Linked DNA regions of Homo sapiens: region 1 is linked to region 2. Evidence: promoter capture Hi-C in 16 types of primary human blood cells and fetal thymus (Javierre and others, 2016). All regions are on one chromosome and are shown on one strand. The core of a region is centred on a gene start or on the middle of the fragment in contact, and the rest is flanking DNA. Distances in the headings are between cores, read along the strand shown. Region 1 overlaps CCNJ (cyclin J). Region 2 holds the start of DNTT (DNA nucleotidylexotransferase).

Evidence for each region. Contacts are between HindIII fragments. The CHiCAGO score rates a contact against its expected background, and 5 or more counts as called.
Region 1: a fragment that was not itself captured here is called in contact with the fragment with the promoter of DNTT in region 2 in 1 of 17 cell types (naive CD4 T cells); the score reaches 5.8 in naive CD4 T cells.

The regions. Positions count from the first base shown.
Region 1 is chr10:96,048,112-96,054,040 of GRCh38, reverse strand. It overlaps CCNJ (cyclin J), which reads right to left. Exons shown (of 6, transcript NM_001134375.2): 3 at 3,575-3,785. The region is part of intron 2 of ENTPD1-AS1 (ENTPD1 antisense RNA 1); the gene reads left to right. Among named protein-coding and RNA genes, the nearest start is that of CCNJ, 7.5 kb to the right of the region's middle. The HindIII fragment of the contact is 3,177 bases long and covers 277-3,453 here.
Region 2 is chr10:96,300,548-96,306,190 of GRCh38, reverse strand. DNTT (DNA nucleotidylexotransferase) reads right to left here and starts at 1,757. Exons shown (of 11, transcript NM_004088.4): 1 at 1,491-1,757. The coding sequence starts at 1,693. The HindIII fragment of the contact is 4,232 bases long and covers 1-3,888 here.

The DNA.
Region 1 (5,929 bases), core at 616-3,115, 250 kb after region 2:
TGGTAGAGAAGATTTATATACTGAATAGGGCACGGATCAGATGTCACCGAGTGCTCTGCCAACCCACATTCTATTTTTTTATTACTAAGTAGGGGGAAAAAAGTCATCCCTAACATACACTAAGAATTATCACAAATTTATAAAATGAATCTAATATAAAAATGGGCAAACAAAAGAAAAAGGTAATTCATAGAAAAAAATTCTGAGCTCATTAAAAATTGAGATGTAAATTAAACCAACTGTGAGATATAAATTTTCACACATCAGTAAAAAGCTTTGCTAACCCAGTGTTGGTTGGCAAGGGGAAACAAGCACTTGTTACAAATTGTTACTACTAAAAGCCTCTGTCTCACTTTTCACTTTGTCTTGACTCCAAGATCATTTCTTAGTTATGTAAGATCTTGAGCAAATTATGAGAAATCTTATCTCCAAGATTACTTCCACATGCTCCATAAATGTAATGTTGGTCACAGAAGCCAAGGGAAGCCAGGGCATACATGTGAAAGAGTTGGAATAGGAGAACTTCCCTGGACAAATTAGGGTCCAGTTTGAAATAGGTCAAAACCTTTAGGGTAAAGGAGGCAGGCTAAAGGTAACAGAGCAACTTATGGAGGAATTAATAATTACCATGCTAATCTTTTAATGTTTCCATTTCCTACATGCTTTTAAACATATTACCCCCACTTGATCCCAGAACAACTTTGTAAGGTATCTTTATTTCCATCTTATAAAGAAATAACCTGAGATTCAGGGGTTGTTGAAATTCATATTGCTGATGAGACTCCAACCCAGGGAATCCATCACTATGGTCATTGCTCCAAAACACTACACATAGCTCTCCAATCAGAGATAATCTGTAGGCCCTTTCTTCTTCTAATAGTGTAGACATAAGCATTTGCTTCTAGAACTTACAAGGTATGCTCCATCTTTGGCCAAACCACCTACGGCTTCCCATTACAATGAACTCCACAAATTTAAAACAGGAATCAGACACTGAAAAGAGTTTATCAGTTTATAAGAATCCTAAGCTCTTCTGCTGTAAAGTTACAGACTAGGGTTGGGGGGCAAGGGTAGAGAGACTGCTGCCTACTAAGGGCTAACCTCTTCAATTCCTGACCCTGGTGTAGAGCTGATAGCTCAAACTCTTTTGAACAACTTGCTACTTGGGAGGAGCAGAAATCCTGAAGAATACCTCACATACATTCCTACTCTCCAATGCAAAAGGAAGAATGTAAAAGCAATTCTTCCCTCAAGGAAAGGGAAATCAGGAGGCATCAGCAGAAAAAGGAGGGAGGTATCCAGTTCTTTCAGTAATAGGTGATAATTCATATTTGAACCCCAGCAAATACAGATCCTAATGTCTAATTACTGGAAAGAGTCACAAATAACTACATCTTACCACTGATATTAATCCAAATAGTTCAATAAAATAAATTGTTCATGACCTTAAACTAACAGAAATACACAATTTAAAAATAAGAACAATTGAAAACTCCATTCCAACCAACCTAAGATGGTACACAAAGATGGCCTTCCCACTTGGCCCACGCTACACTTTAAAAATCACAGGCATAGAGCAGGTGCTAGTGTTAAAATGACAGTGATAGCCACACAGTTACTTTCCATTAATGATACCAAGTTTTTAAAATAATCTAACTTGCATGTCTGATTTCCAGTGACACTCTACTGTAAACTGATTCTATAATAAACATTCTGTACAATAACAAAAATCCATTTTATTTGTGGACTCACACATCTAAACTGTCACGTGTGAGCTTTTCCAATCTTATACAAACTATTAAACCCCAAAGGGCTTCACAGCCAGTGATTAAACACATACAGTATTACACACATGATTACTTATGAGCATGAAACTTTAATTAGAGGCTAAATTAAAGGTTAATTATAAATGTACAAGCATTACCTCTCTGGCTCCTGGGTAGGGGGATGAGGGATGAGTGAAGTGTCTGAATTTTAGAGAACAGTAGATTAAGGGGAAATGTAGATATTCAGGAAGTAAATGGTATTCTAAGAATTTTGCTCAACGTACATGGGGATGAGACTGGAAAGGTGGCTGGGTCCAGATGAAAGATTCTAAACACTACATTAAGCAGTTTCCACCTTAATATATAGGCAGTGGGAAGTCATGCTGCAGCTGTGTTTTATTTACATTCAGCCTGGTTCTACAATGGATCTGAAATAACTTACAAAGGGACATTCTGGGGACAAAATAAGTAGTTGAGGTCATCAGATCAAAGGAAGAATAAAGGTCAGAAAATAAAATCTGAGAAGAGATTAGTACCAGAAATGATACTACATAGGACTACATTTGGTTTTAGATTTATAAGCAGCCAGGCACAGAAGTGCTAAAGAACTCTGGTGGCATGGATATAGGGGGAATGTTCCTTATTTCATCCCAGCCATATTTGACCCCAAAACCTCAAGGGAGAGTTAGAGGTGAAGGTTATCAGTATATCTACATACTCCTTTAAGATTCTATTATAATGACATGGATAATACAGAAACTACATTACTGATTTAACTTCAATATCAAATACAATCTTTATCCCTCAAGTGAGAGTTAAAAGTGAAGGTTATCAATACATCTACATACTATAAATTTCATTGTAATAACATGAATATAGAAACTATATTACTGATTCAACTTCCATATCAAATACAATCTTCCACATTATTAAAAGAAAAAAAAACACAATTTCAATTCCTTTACGTGCCCTATCTTCAGTGAGAGTACCAACGAGCAATGAAATGAGGTATAGGAAGATGTAAAGAGAAAGAGGGGCCAAAAGATCCACCAGTATATTCTGTACTAAGTAACAAATATGGTTGTATCAGATTGTATCTTGGAGCCTACTACACAGTTGGTCTAATGCATAAGCAAAAGTTTTCACATTTATAGTAGTTGCACATTAACTTTTAGTTCATTAAGCCAACTCATTATTTAGTCAGTAGAAAGTATTCTAATATAAGAATATGGTACTTTTAAGACAGTTTCTCAACTTTAGCTCCATTGATGTTTTGGGACAGAGAATTTTGTTATGGGAAACTGTCCTGTACACTACCGGATGTTTAGCAGCATCCCAGGCCTCTATGTACTAGATGCTAAAAAAGCATCTCCCACTTTATCACCAGATGTGACAACCAAAACGTCTGTACACGTTGCCAAGTGTTCCCTGTGGGACAAAACTGCTCCTGGTTTAGAACCACTGCTTTAAGACAATGGTTCTCAATTGGAAAGGTAAATCAAAATCACCTTTGGAACTTTTTCAAAAAGTTAAAAAATACCCAGTACCCATTATGTAGATTTTGTCTTAGTAGATCTGGAGTGGCCGAGAATGTACGGCTTAGGCACATGTTTTTAACAGGCTCCAAAGCCATTTTTCAATGTCTGGTTAAGAATTATTACACTGAGAAGCACTTTTAACATAAGCTTCTTGATACTAGTGAACTGGAATGAATGGGATTTGATGATATTTCACTGAGTTCTACATAAATTTATTTTATTATATAAACATCAGAAATTTCCAGTCATGTAAATCAGATTCATACTTACTTGCTAGAAGCAGGCAGGAAAGCGCAACTAAATGCAGCTGCTGGATAGAGATGTCATAGCGGTCCATAAACAGGTCCAGTAAATAGACAGCAAGATGGCGGGCAGAAGGGCAGAGTGTGAAGCGATTGCTCACAATGGCAATCAAGTCAGCAAAATACCGTCTGAGACTTAACTGAGGGGACTGGCCTTTATAGGAGGGCAACTTCAGCTCCTAAGTCAAAAGGAACAACATTTAGTCTGACCTATCTGTAGGCGTATCCCCACAAGGCAATGACTTAACATTGTTTTTCCAATATATTAGTATTACAAGTGCCTAAAACATACTTTTCTTGACTGGAATACAAAAATGAAAAAGTTAAGTGGAGGGATAATGAATGACATTTAAAACCAAATTTTTCTCCTTACTCTTAACCACTTCTGATGTGAACAATTATAGATGTTCTTGTTTCTTGCTTTCTAGAATGGATACATCCTACAAAGATTTTTAATAAGAGAATCCTGTTTTCCCTACCAGGTGTTTTCAGAAAAACATCCCTGACAAACCAACCACATACCACACACACGCCCCTACACCTCTCCAAGATGCTCAGAACTTTTGGTTAGAAGGTAATAGATAAGTGGATATGCTGCATACAGTATTATACTTGCAACAGTGTAGAAAGCAGTACCTTTCCTCTAGTATCTTCTAATTTTGTTTCCCTTTTAACAGTTTTATGATCTGCCCTTTCCCATCATCCTCTCATACACCTAAAATCACTTCAATCTCAGGACTATATTATATCAACTTGTTTTTTAAAAACTGGAAAAATTCTATACTATTAAAATATTTCCAGAGCATAGAGAAAGATGGAAAGCTTCCAAATTCATTTTATAAGATCAGCATAATACTGATACTAAACCCAACAGGTATCACAATAGAAGAAGTAACAGGGATACGATACCAAAAGCAGAACTTCCCCTACCCTGCAAAAAAAAAAAAAAAAAAGAAAAAGAAAAAGAAAAGAGAAATGGGACTTTAACAAAATTAAAAACTTTTGTTTAACAAAAGATGCTATCAACAGAGTAAAAGGGCAACCCGCAGAATGGATGAAAGTATTTATAATCATATCTGATAAGGGGTAAATAGCTAGATTATATAAATAACTTATACAACTGGATAACAACCAAAAAACCTAATTATAAAAATGGGCAAAGGATTTGAATAGACATTTCTCCAAAGAAGATACACACAAATGCCCAAAAAATATCATAAAACATGAAAAAGATGTTTGTTCAGCATCACTAATTATTAGGAAATGCAAATCAAAACCACTAACAGCACTTCACACCTAGTTGGATTGCTATTATCAAAAAACAAAACAAAACAAAACAAAACCAGATAATCATAAGTGTTAGCTTGAATGTGGAGAAACTGGAATCCTTGTGCATTCCTGGTGGGAATGTAAAATGATGTAGTTGTTACAGATAACAGTATGGCAATCCCTCAATAAATTAAACAGAGTTACCACATGATCCAGCAATTCCACGTTTAGGTACATACTCAAAAGAACTGAAAGCAGGGACTTGAAGAGAGATTTGTACACACATGTTCAAAACAGGATTACTCACAATAACCAAAAGGTGGAAACAATGCAAATGCCCACCAGCAGATGAATGGATAAACAAAATGTGGTATATACATGGAGTATTATTCAGCCTTAGAAAATTCTTATAATATACTACATGGTTGAACCTTGGAGACAGTATGCTAAATGAAAAAAGTCATGAAAGAACATTTATTGTATGATTCCACTTAATGAGTTACCTAGAATAGTCCTATTTACAGGGACAAAGTAGAATAGTGGTTATCAGAAGCTAGAGGGTGGGAAATTGGGGAGTAATCGTTCAATGGGTATGGAGTTTCAGTTTGGGAAGATGAAAAAGTTCTAAAGATAGATAGTGGTGACAACAATGCAAATGTACCTAATGTCACTGAACTGTACAGTTAAAAATGGTTAGAATGGTAAGTTTTATGTTATGACAGCTGCTGGCAAGGTTGTGGAGAAAAAGGAACGCTTTTACACTGTTGGTGGGAGTGTAAATTAGTTCAACCATTGTGGAAGACAGTGTGGTGATTCCTCAAAGACCTAGAGGCAGAAATACCCTTTTACCTAGCAATCTCATTACTGGGTATATAACCAAAGGAATATAAATCATTCTACTATAAAGACACATGCATGTGTATGTTCACTGAAGCACTATTCACAAGAGCAAAGACATGGAATCAACCTAAATGCCCATCAATGATAGACTGGATAAAATGTGGTACATACAGACCATGGAATACTGTGCAGCCATGAAAAGGAACAAGATCAC
Region 2 (5,643 bases), core at 508-3,007:
ACCTGGGAGGCGGAGGTTGCAGTGAGCCGAGATTGTGCCACTGCACTCCAACCCGGGCAACAGAGCAAGACTCTGTCTCAAAAAAAAAAAAAAAAAAATCTATTTTTTTGGCTTCTTTACCTATATAATCTTCCTGTCTTCTCCAACTCTAGCCTTCTATGTAAGTCTGTAATATCAGGCAGGCTTAACAGTTAGATGAAATCTAGGATTTTCTTGGAAAGGATGTTAGAAAATGAGATTCAGAGTGGCTGTAGGAGGTTACAGAGAGGCAGCAAGAGAGAAAAGGAGACCTTGCAAAGAGAAATCAGGTGGAAGAAGGGCCATAGGAAATTCAGGAATTTCTGAATGGGGCATTTTAGCAAAAAATGAATGAAAAGTCAATGTCATATGAATCAGGGTGTTGCGAACATTAACATATCTGAAAATTGACTTTTGAAATATGTCTCCTCAACACTTGGAAGCTGACATTTCTTCTGCATGACATGCTTGTCAGTTTTATTTTCAAATATCAAAGACTATTTATACAATCAAAATGTCCTTTCACATAAAATTTTTATAGTTTTGCCTGAAAATTTGTGGTCAATTTATTTCTTGCACAGTCAAAGCGGTCAACTGCATAAATCATTACTCCTTCATTGCAAGCCCCTTAACAGTTTAATCCAGAACCATCACTTATGTCAAGGTTCTAATACCATTTGTTTCTGGATTTTGCTTGTTTTCTCTTCATCTATTTGAGATCAGTGAAGAGCTTACACAGAAGTTAGAAAAACAACAAGAATAATTGCTGTTCAAGGTGAGTGGATTAGTGAGTGAACCAATCTAGGTGGTCCAAATGCTTCTATCGCCTCCTTGCCTGGGCTCTGATTACATCTCACTCAGTGTGATGTCTGTCATCCCTGGACAGAGCTGTCTTAACAGTGAATACATCTTTACCTAGCATCTCTCTTTCTAAGAACCCCACTAGGACCACTCTTTGGAAAAATGTGGTCAAGGCCACATCTGGGTGCCTGTGGTAAGCTGGCTAGTCATCCTCGCCCACCACAGATGCTAGCTGCCTTAGCACGCCCAGATGTATAGGTAAGAACCAAGCAACCAAATCATCTTTCTGCATCAAAGTAGCCAAAACTTTTTTGTTGAACCCAGTGATACTTTGTTCAAATTGGTCAAGAATAGAATTGAGTGGTTCAGCATTAAATTTTCCAATTAGTGTTCTGCTTATCATCCCTAAATAACACATCTCATAGGAGTGAAAAGCAAAAAACAAAAAATTTATCTCATCTTTTGGTGTCAACTAGTTTCAATATAATTGTATTCAGTCCCCACTTATCTCGTTTTCCTTAACTAGTTGTTCTTTGATTTCAAATCTGCTGTTCTCCCAGTGGGAAGATCACCTCTTCCACATGTGGAAGAAAACACAGGTTCCTTGGGTTCCCAAGAAGCTGTTCACAAAGCCTCTGCTTATTTACAAAGCAAGATCGATGCTGTCCTACCTGAGCTCATTTTCAACCCTGAACCCTTTCCTGCGGGCCAGCTCCATGAGGAACGCTCTGCGGGTGGTTCCCATTTTCTTCTCCAAAATGAAGACGACCAAATCTTGAAATTTGATGTCTTGAGGAGAGGAGGCCATCAAGGCACCCGTCTGCCGGGGTCTCTTCTTCCGAGGGCTCAAGTGGGACGCTCGTGGTGGATCCATGGGAAGAGGCTGCTGCTGCCTCTGGCTGGCCCATCTGGTGGTGTCTCCAGAAGGGAGGGAGACTGCCACCCTCCTACACGAAGGGTTTTGATGTCATCTCACCAGCAGACTCTGAAGCCAGGCCAGGGCTTCACAGGTGCTGCCCTGGCAACAGCTTCCTGCCAAAGTGTGATGGGGAATTTTTATCTCTGTTCAGTTCATTTGTCCAATATGGAGATCATAATGAAGACAGTCAATTAACTTTTGTTTTCATACGCACAATCTCATTAGCTCCTCAGAGTAACCTCGTGAGGAAGGTAGGGAAGCATCATTGTTTGCATGTTATTTATTTCTAAATGTACTGAGGCCCTTCTGTGGTCTTTATTTATTGATCCCCTTTAAACCTCCCAACTCACTTGCATTCTCCTCCTTTTGTAGACAATCATTACACTGTACTGGATGTCTGTTATTTGCATGGGTGTTATATTCTGCTTGTGGTTGTTTTGACTTTACATAAATGGCATTGTTACATTTCTCATTTTGCCAATCACCTTTTTATTTCACTTGGAACTATGTTTTCCAGATCCGTATTCTAATTGCTCTGTTGCTTCTAACTGCTCCATAGTATTTCATGGTGGGTATTACCACCTGTTCACTTACATAGGTACATTTTATAAGCAAGAGAACCAAGGCTCAGTTATTCAAGATCACAGAATAAGGGGCCAAGCCATATCTTGAATTCAGTTCTTTGGATTCCAAATGCTGTATGCATATATTAGTTTTTTAAGTGGATTAAGGTTGTCCAGAGAGTAGTCTGTTATAAACCCTAAAATAGGTCTTCTTCAGTGGGATGGTATGACTTTTAGATGATAACCACTGCCATAAGGAGACATTTTCATAACTTTATGTGCAAAATTAAATTTGTCTTTCACCAATACACTCTATAGATCTCATTTCCTGAGCAGCTACTACACGGCCAAGGCAAGCACCTACCAGCCTTAGCTGACAGGATCCTCACAATACCACTGTCAGGTGGTCCTACCTTTCTCATTTGGCTAAACAATTTGCCCAAGGTCACAGAGCTACTGAATTTTCACAACTGAGAAATGATTGAGCTAGGATTTGGACTCAGATCTGTCTGATTTTAAAAGACTACTCTTAACCACCAAGGAGCCTTCCTCTGTATTGTCTTCTCCAATAACCAATCTGAGCTCTGCTCACCCTTTGTCCTTTTTTTTTTTTTTGGAGATGGAGTTTCGCTCTTATTGCCCAGGCTAGAGTGCAGTGACACAATCTCAGCTCACTGCAACCTCCACCTCCTGGGTTCAAGCGATCCTGCTACCTCAGCCTCCTGAATAGCTGGGATTACAGGCGCACGCCACCACGCCTGGCTAATTTTTGTATTTTTAGTAGAGATGGGGTTTCACCATGTTGGTCAGGCTGGTCTTGAACTCCTGACCTCAGGTGATCGGCCCACCTCGGCCTCTCAGAGTGCTGGGATTACAGGTGTGAGCCACCATGGCTGGCCGTCTGTGCCATATTATTTGAGACTTTTGCTATCTCCAAAACACGTGAGCACCTCACAACCGTATTAGGGGAAGAGTCATGTGACAGCTGCCTTAAGGCATGGGTAAAGCACTCTGTGTTGCTCAAGAAAGCAAAATCAGAAATCTTCAGGTGGAAATTGTAGAGTAATAGATTCCAGTTCTCCGCAAGTAAGACCTGTTTAGTAACTCAGCTGTCTAAAAATATACAGAGAGCAGCTTTATACAGTTGTGTGTTACAAGTCATGAAAAGTATTCAAACAGATGCTGGATAACTGTTTATTGAGCTGTAACAGAAGGGAATTCAGACATCTGGTAAGGGCCTATAATGCAGCCCTGAAATTCCCGGATGCTATGACTGTTTGCTAGAGATCAACTGGAAGATGAGAGTCTATTTTGACCCTCACTATTATGTGTTTGGTTACTGAAGAGCTGAATGCTTCATGTTAGAATGCAGTCTTAGCTACCAAATGGTGCTGCAGCAGGGAGTTAAGTAAATGATTCTAGCAAGAGTCTGGGATTGTTGTGTTCGTTCCCAAGGTATAGCCACCTAATAGTAAAGGTGCACCACCTAAGCAGTAAAGGGAATGGGGAGGTAGTACTGAGATGTGGCTAACAGCTCAGGCTTCGTCAGGCTGCCCATAAAAATTCTGTCTCTATTGCTCTGAAGCTTCAAAGCAAGTTGCTTAACTTCTTTAAGCCTCAGCTTTACCCCATCTGTAAAATGAGGACTGAGATAGCCCACATAACCTGCTGGGCAGAGTGCTTGACACAAAGGTAGCACTTTCAATAAATGTCAGTTCGTAGTAATTTATGTTTTGTTTTTAGAGACATTCCAGTTCAATCTGAAATCGGATATATATGTTTTGTGAAACTACTAAATCATCAAAATATCATATTAAACAATGTCACATTTTAATTTGCTTTGAGTCACTGGTATTGAAAACATTACCAACAAAAATTTCAAATGTACTGATGCCTGTCTGGTTATCAGGCTATCATCTCTCAGCTGCAAATCTACCTTTTTTCTGATGGATTCCATGAGGTTGAGGCTGGGACTGAGCAAATTCTCTTTCTCATTTGCCAGCTGACTTTATGTCAGGCTCTGCCAATGGTGATACCAGAGGGAGACTGAAAGTCTAGATAAGAGGAAAGAGGTGACCTTTTTTGTTTGCTTGCTGCTACAAAGGTCAGGGTCTTCGCAGTAATGGTTCTCTACTCAGACAGCAGTGATTGGTTCTAGTCTTTAGCTTTTTTCTTTTTCTTTTTTTCTTTTCTGCACAACCAGACCCAGTCTTACTGTACCCTTCAGAGGTATCAATACCACTTAGGTGACATCTCCTCAAAAGTCTGAGCCCCAGCTCTGCAGAGGTTTCCCTATGAAATTCTATGGCACCAGGGACGACAGGCAGCACTTCCTTATTAAAGATCTGTGTTCCAGCTCCATGGGAGCCCTGCTCCAAACTTCCAGTTTTCAACAATCCCAGCTCCATCCCTTTGTTGCTCCAGCCCAGTGGTGTAGTGTGCTTCTTGCAGTTTCTTTCTCTGAGTTACCTCAATGTCCTCTTTTTGCTTTTTCAGCAATTAATGTCTGTTAAACCAATCCCCTGTGGTGAAGGGAGGTGTGAAATAAGGTCTGAGAGCACAGATGTCTCATCGCCTTCTCAGGAACTAAATTAAATCGTGCTCATGAAGTGCCTTGAAAATAATAAAACACTATACAGAGTTCTCTTATGCTCTTTGGCATTGCTGCCAATAGCAGGAATTGATTTCTTCTTACTATACTATGATTTTCTGAAGCTCTTTGCATCAGATGTTGAGCACTCTCCTTGATCTACTAGATTGGTCAATAATCTCCAAATCTCAGTGTCTTAACAAAAGTTTATTTGTTTATGCTACTTGGTGGAGAATTCTGCTCCATTTAAGACTCTTCAATATGAACAAATAGAATACAGGTGTTAGGAGCCAGACTACCTGAATTCAAAACCTAACCTTTCTTTGCTTTATTTCCCTTATCTCTGCAATGGGGGTTAGAATGATTTCTATCTTACAGGTGGCTATGAGGACTAAAGCACTTCAAAGACCACTGGCATGCAAGTTCCAAGAACTGTCCATTGCTATTGTAATAGTGCAGGTTTCTCCTTGTTCCCCCTTCCCTTCCCTGTGTTCCCATATACTTTGTAGGTAATCCTGTCACAATCCTTCCCAATGGTCTTTTGCTTTCCCTAGACTCTTCCAAAAGTGGTGCCAGCCCGCTTAGGAAGAGCTGACACAGGAGGATCACTTGAGCCCAGTAGATCGGGGCTGCAAAGAGCCCTGTCCATGCCACTGCTCTCCAGCCTGGGTAACAGAGTGAGACCCTGTCTCAAAAAAGAAAACAAAACAAGACAAAAAAATAAAACAGACCTAAGACTCTAATGAGACCAG